Regions from separate parts of the Homo sapiens genome. Here region 1 is linked to region 2. Evidence: promoter capture Hi-C in human tissues and cell types (Jung and others, 2019). All regions are on one chromosome and are shown on one strand. Each heading gives the region's core, a stretch centred on a gene start or on the middle of the fragment in contact. The rest is flanking DNA. Distances are from core to core; before and after follow the strand shown. Region 1 has its middle 27 kb from the start of PNMA8B. Region 2 holds the start of MYPOP (Myb related transcription factor, partner of profilin).

Region 1 (3,203 bases), core at 607-3,106, 620 kb before region 2:
ACAGGAGGTTAAGGCTACAGTGAGCTGCGATCGTGCCATTCACTCCAGCCTGGGCAACCGAGCGAGACCCTGTTTCACACACACACACACAAAACTAGGGGGGGTGGATCCGGACTGAGAATTCCCCAAGAAGACAAAATCAGGCCACATAAGCAAAACCTAAGGTACTCTGACTTTTGAATGTAAGCGAAACTCAACTTAGATCTCGATCTCTCTCTCAATCTCTCTCCCTTGTTTTTTTTTTTTTTTTCTGAGATGGAGTCTGGCTCTGTCGCCCAGGCTGGAGTTCAGTGGTGCGATCTCGGCTCACTGCAAGTTCCGCCTTCTGGGTTCACGCCATTCTCCTGCTTCAGCCTCCCGAGTAGCTGGAACTACAGGCGCCCGCCACCTAATTTTTTGTATATTTAATAGAGACGGGGTTTCACCATGTTAGCCAGGATGGTCTCAATCTCCTGACCTCGTGATCCGCCCACCTTGGCCTCCCAAAGTGCTGGGATTACAGGCGTGAGCCACCACGCCCGGCTATCTCTCTCCCTTTCTTTCCTTTCTCCTTTCCTTTCTCTCTTTCTTTCTTTCTTTCTTTCTTTCATGGAATCTTGCTCTGTGACCCAGGCTGGAGTATAGTGGCATGATCTCTGCTCACTGCAGCCTCCATCTCCGGGGTTCAAGCAATTCTTGTGCTTCAGCCTGCCAAGTAGCTGGGATTACAGGCACGCACCACCACGCCCTGCTAATTTTTGTATTTTGTATTTTTTTTTTTTTAGTAGAGACGGGGTTTCACCATGTTGCTCAGGCTGGTCTCAAACTCCTGACCTCAAGTGATCTGTCTGCCTCAGTCTCCCAAAGTGCTGGGATTACAGGGGTGAGCCACCGCACCCAGCCAGCTTAGGTTATTTCTTACAAATGCCTCTGATAATCATAAACGAAACTTAAGTTGCCTTCCCCAAATGATATAAGAGGATTGCTTTTAACCAGTCCCGTGCAATCTGGAAACCTCCACTGTATAGACAGTCACTGTAAAGGTTAAACCACTTCCTGATTTTTGCTTTCTCAGCCATCCTGTAACAACATGCCTCTGAGCTTCTTACTACCTGGGTTGAGGTCTCCTGGATTGTGCCCTGTCCCCACTTTTTTTTAATGACAACAAACTTTTAAATATTTATTCATTGGATCTGATTTTGTTTTGGACACTGGCATGCAAAGGGGAGGGAGATGGTCATAGGACTGTTGTCAACGTTCAAAAGCAAAACAGGATTTATATGAGAAAGGTAAGAGAAGGGAGAGAAAACTTCATACTGAAGTCTGGGTGCCCTGGCTCACACCTGTAATCCCAGCTCCTTGGCAGACTAACACGGGAGGATCACTACAGGCCAGGAGGTCAAGGCTACAGTGAGCCATAATCACGCCATTGCACTCCAGTCTGGGCAACAGAGCAAGACTCTGTCTCAAAAAGAAAAGAAAAATACAACTTTTGACTGAAAACAATGAATTGTGTTTTCACATTTTGGGGGTCAAATTGATTATCCAGAAACTAGAAAAGAGCAGGATGACTGGAGGAGTGAAAGAAAGCTTTTTTTTTTTTTTTTTTTTTTAAGAGACAGGTCTTGCTATGTTGCCCAGGCTGGTCTTGAACTCCTGGCCTCAAGCAATCTTCCTGTCTTGGCCTCCCAAGGTGTTGGGATTACAGGCATTAGCCACTGTGCCCAACCAAGAAAGCAATTTCTGATACTTGGGATTTTCCAGAAAACCTGAAGAGCTTAGCTGTGGAGCGTTTGTAGGAGGCTGTCTCCATGACATCTGCTGTGACCTCCTGTTGGCAATGGCCCATAGTTAGCCCAGGTGACCCCATTCCTTCCTCAAGCTTTCCTCAAGGTCTGTTTTTTCGGTTTGTTTGTTGTTTTTGAGATGGAGTCTTGCTCTGTTGCCTAGGCTGGAGTGCAGTGGTGCGATCTTGGCTCACTGCAACCCCCGTCTCCCGGGTTCAAGTGATTCTCTTGCCTCAGCCTCCCGAGTAGCTGGGACTACAGGCGTGGGCCACCACGTCTGGCTAATTTTTGTGTTTTTAGTAGAGATGGGGTTTCACCATGTTGGCCAGGCTGGTCTCGAACTCCTAACTTCAGGTGATCCGCCCACCTCAGCCTCCCAAAGTGCTGGGATTACAGGCGTGAGCCACCGTGCCCGGCCCTTCAAGGTCTATTTTATCTCCTTCTATGTCTATATCCACAGTAATATCTATGTCTACATTGATGTTTATGTCTATATCCATGTCTACGCCCACAGCTCTATCCTAATCTATACCTACACCATAGGGGCTGCTATATCCTTATTGGTAGCTTATCCTCTATCTGCAACTATATCCACATCTCCATCTACATTCAGATCAGTCTCCCTCTCTCTGTCTATGTCTGTGTTCATTTTCTAGAGCTGCTGTCATAAATTCTCACAAACTTGGTGGCTAAAAATAACAGACGCTTATTTTCTCACAGTTCCGGAGGCCAGATGTTCAAAACAAAGATGCCAGCAGGGCCTTGTTGGCTCTGAAGGTTCTATGGGAGAATCCTTTCTTGCCTCCTCCAGCTTCTGGGGGCTCTTGATGTCTCTTGGCTCCAGTCTCTGGCCTTCTCTTCTTCTCTGTGTCTTTTCTTTTGCTGTGTCTTTTTTTTGGAGGGGGCGGGACAGGGACAGAGTCTCGCTCCATCGTCCAGGCTGGAGTGCAGTGGCTGGCGCGATCTCGGCTCACTGCAACCTCCGCCTCCCGGGTTTAAGCGATTCTTCCACCTCTGCGTCCCAAGTAGCTGGAATTACAATTGCCTGCCACCATGCCTGGCTAATTTTTGTATTTTTAGTAGAGACGGTTTTCACCATGTTGGCCAAGGCTGGTCCTGAACCCCTGATCTCAAGTGATCTGCCCACCTCAGCCTCTCAAAGTGCTGGGATTACAGACATGAGTCACCGCGTCCAGCCAGGTTTCACTTATTTCTGTAGATTCTTGGTCCAACCAACAAGTTTCCCACAATTTATTGCATTATTTAAAAAAATATCTATCATCATAAAAATAATACGTCTGATATTATTTTTCTATAATATTCTAGGCATTATTATATAATATTCTAGGTGGTATTATTATTCTAGGCATACTATTAAACACAGAAAGAAAGACACGGAGGTCAGCAGCCTTCAAAGATGGCTACTAACAATTCCTC
Region 2 (2,872 bases), core at 121-2,620:
CTGGAGAGCAGTGGCCTGATCATAGCTCACTGCAGCCTGCAACTCCTGGGCTCAAGCGATCCTCCCGCCTCAGCCTCCCAAGTAGCTGGGACTACAGGCATGTATTTTTTTTTTTTTTTTTTTTGAGACGGAGTCTCACTCTGTCGTCCAGGTGGAGTGCAGTGGTGCAATCTCAGCTCACTGCAACCTCTGCCTCCCGGGGTTAAGCGATTCTCGTGCCTCAGCCTCCCGAGTAGCTGGGATTACAGGCATGCACCACCATGCCCAGCTAGTTTTTGTATTTTCAGTAGAGATGGGGTTTCACTGTGTTGGCCAGGCTTGTCTCGAACCCCTGACCTCAGGTAATCCGCCCGCCTTGGCTTCCCAAAGTGCTGGGATTACAGGCGTGAGCTCCACCGCGCCCGGCCCAGGCTACGGATTTTAGCTTTTATGTTCATTGTACCAGGAACTGTGTAAGTGCTCATGTATATTTATTGAGTCGATGAATGAAGCACCAATTGTCGAATGACCTTGAGGACTCCTGCAGGATGCTAACGAACACACTTCTCAGCCGGACTGAGCTCCATCATCCTGCCATGCGGCTCACCCCACCTGCGTTCTGGCTTCATTCCTGTCTCCATGCACTTGCTTAAAGTCGTGCCGGCGTCAGGATCTCCCTTCCTACCAGCCAGGAAGCTCTTCCCTCTTATTTTCCCCGCTCCTCGAGGTAAAGGTGCGCACAGAGGGGCCCCCAAGGCGTGACTGGAAGGCTTGTGGGTCGCTATGGTTACTGCATCCGCCCGGGGCGGGACATCCCCAGGACGCCCAGCCTCTAGGGGTGCGAGGTGGGAAGCTCTGGAGCGGCCCAGCGCAGGGGCGGGCAAGCCAGGAGGCAAAGCGGTTTCCTCACGCCTCCACCCCACCCACACAGTTGTCAAGGAGACAAAGCGCTTCCCTTCAGCGCTGTCTCCCTCCCCTTTGGTTAGAGGGCAGGGTGGGCTGGAAGACTGTCCGAAAGGTTGGGTACTGGCGCGCTCCCAGCATCTCTCCCATCCAAGCTCGCAACGCCTGCGCCGAGACCCGGTACCGGGTACAACCCGAGGCACGCGCATGCGCGCGATGGAGTTTTTGCGCGTGCGCCGTTGTGGCCCCAGGAAGCTGGGGTACCCGCGCGGCGCTAACGTTGCGGCTGCGCAGTTGCGGCCTGCTGGTGGGGCTCGGCGGAGCGCAGTTCTGCGCCTGCGCTGTGCTGGGGTAGGTGGGAATGAAACCCTGGCGGTAAGGGCATTGGGGCCGACTGGCCCTGGGCGCGCCTGCGCCTTGGCATGCGGGGCGGCCGGAGGCGGGGCCGAAAGAGGGGAGGGAGGGAGGCGGGGGGTGGGAACAGGCCGCAGAAGCCCGAGCCCTGACCCACCGGCGGCTGCGGCGGAGCCGGTGAGTGACCCGTGGCCCGACTCGGTCCCCACCCTCCGCGACCTTCGCTCTCCCTGCCGTCCCCCGTAGCCTCCGTTGTCTCCTTGTGATACGGGACCCCCGTTATTTCCAGAGCTCCCCTTAATTTCTGGCAATCCCCAGAGCCCCCACAATCCTCGCAGACCCTGATCCCTAATATTTGATCGTTCCAGCTCTTCCAGTGATACAGGAGCTCCCACCTCACCATTATTCCTGGACATCCCTCTAAGGGCCCTTCTCATATCGGTCTTACAGACGCCCCGTTGCCCCCTAGAGCCCCTAGAGCGCCTCCTCTGCTCCAGATTCCCCCCTTCTTGCTGCATCCCCCCTTCCGCATCTCCTTATCTTCATGCATCTAAGACCCCCCCGAGGCACCCCCATCCTCCCTCCATTTCCTATCCTCCCGTGCCCCCATTCTCTAACTCCTGCAGACACCTCCTCTCCTCGCACTTTTCCTCCTTTCCTTCCATCCCTCCAGACCCTCCCCCAATTTCTATCAACTCTTCAGCGTGGCACTTCGCGCCGCGCGAAGTCCGAGCCAAGCGCTCAGCCGGTGTCAGCTACTCTTAGGCGCTTCCGACTTACCCGGGTGCCCGTCGCCCCCGCCCGCCCCCCGCCCCCACTCCTGCCCCCGGGGACTAAGGAGCTCTCGGCCCGGCGGTCTGGGAGAGGCGGCGGCGGGGGGACCCCGAACCCCAGCCAGCCCCGTGCGCCCTTTGCCCGCAGCGCCGGCGCCCCCCATGCGCCAGACGGCAGGACGGCGGCGTCGGGGGGCGCCATGGCCTCGGCGGCGGCGGGCGAAGCGGAGGAAACCACCCGGTTGCGCAAGCCGCGCTTCTCATTCGAAGAGAACCAGATCCTGATCCGCGAGGTGCGCGCCCACTACCCGCAGCTCTACGGCGCGCAGAGCCGTCGGGTGAGCGTGGCAGAGCGGCGGCGCGTGTGGGACGGCATCGCCGCCAAGATCAACGGTATCACCAGCTGGAAGCGCACGGGCCAGGAGGTGCAGAAGCGCTGGAACGACTTCAAGCGCCGCACCAAGGAGAAGCTCGCTCGCGTGCCGCACTCCACGCAGGGCGCCGGGCCCGCCGCGGAGGACGCTTTCTCCGCGGAAGAGGAGACCATTTTTGCCATCCTGGGGCCAGGTGTGGCGGCGCCGGGGGCAGGTGCTGGGGCGGAGGAGCCCCCTGCGGCCCCCTCTTCACAGCCGCCGCCCCCAAGCGCCTGCCCTCAGCGCTACGTGTTGTCGGAAGACCGCCGGGAGGACCGACGTGCAGGTGAGTGTCTTCAGAGTAGGCTGTGTGCCTGCGCTGTTGCAAGCCTTTTACATGTCTCATCAAAGCCTTGCTGCAGCCCTGTGAGGTGGATGCTGTCCTTCGCCCCATTTTATAGCTAGGGAAACTGAAGCTCAGAAAAATGAAATGACTTGCCTCAGTTCCGA

The links. Contacts are between HindIII fragments. The study calls those that stand out against the background at their distance.
Region 1: a fragment that was not itself captured here is called in contact with the fragment with the promoter of MYPOP in region 2 in 2 of the 25 tissues and cell types used here (lymphoblastoid cells and mesendoderm cells).

Annotation. Positions count from the first base shown.
Region 1 is chr19:46,520,937-46,524,139 of GRCh38, reverse strand. It overlaps the pseudogene PPP5D1P. Among named protein-coding and RNA genes, the nearest start is that of PNMA8B, 27 kb to the right of the region's middle. RefSeq lists a silencer at 1,871-2,050. The HindIII fragment of the contact is 3,757 bases long and covers 1-3,203 here.
Region 2 is chr19:45,901,111-45,903,982 of GRCh38, reverse strand. It overlaps MYPOP (Myb related transcription factor, partner of profilin), which reads left to right and starts at 1,370. Exons shown (of 3, transcript NM_001012643.4): 1 at 1,370-1,413; 2 at 2,158-2,708. The coding sequence starts at 2,210. RefSeq lists silencers at 678-757, 1,318-1,367 and enhancers at 1,018-1,127, 1,558-1,607. The HindIII fragment of the contact is 9,891 bases long and covers 1-2,872 here.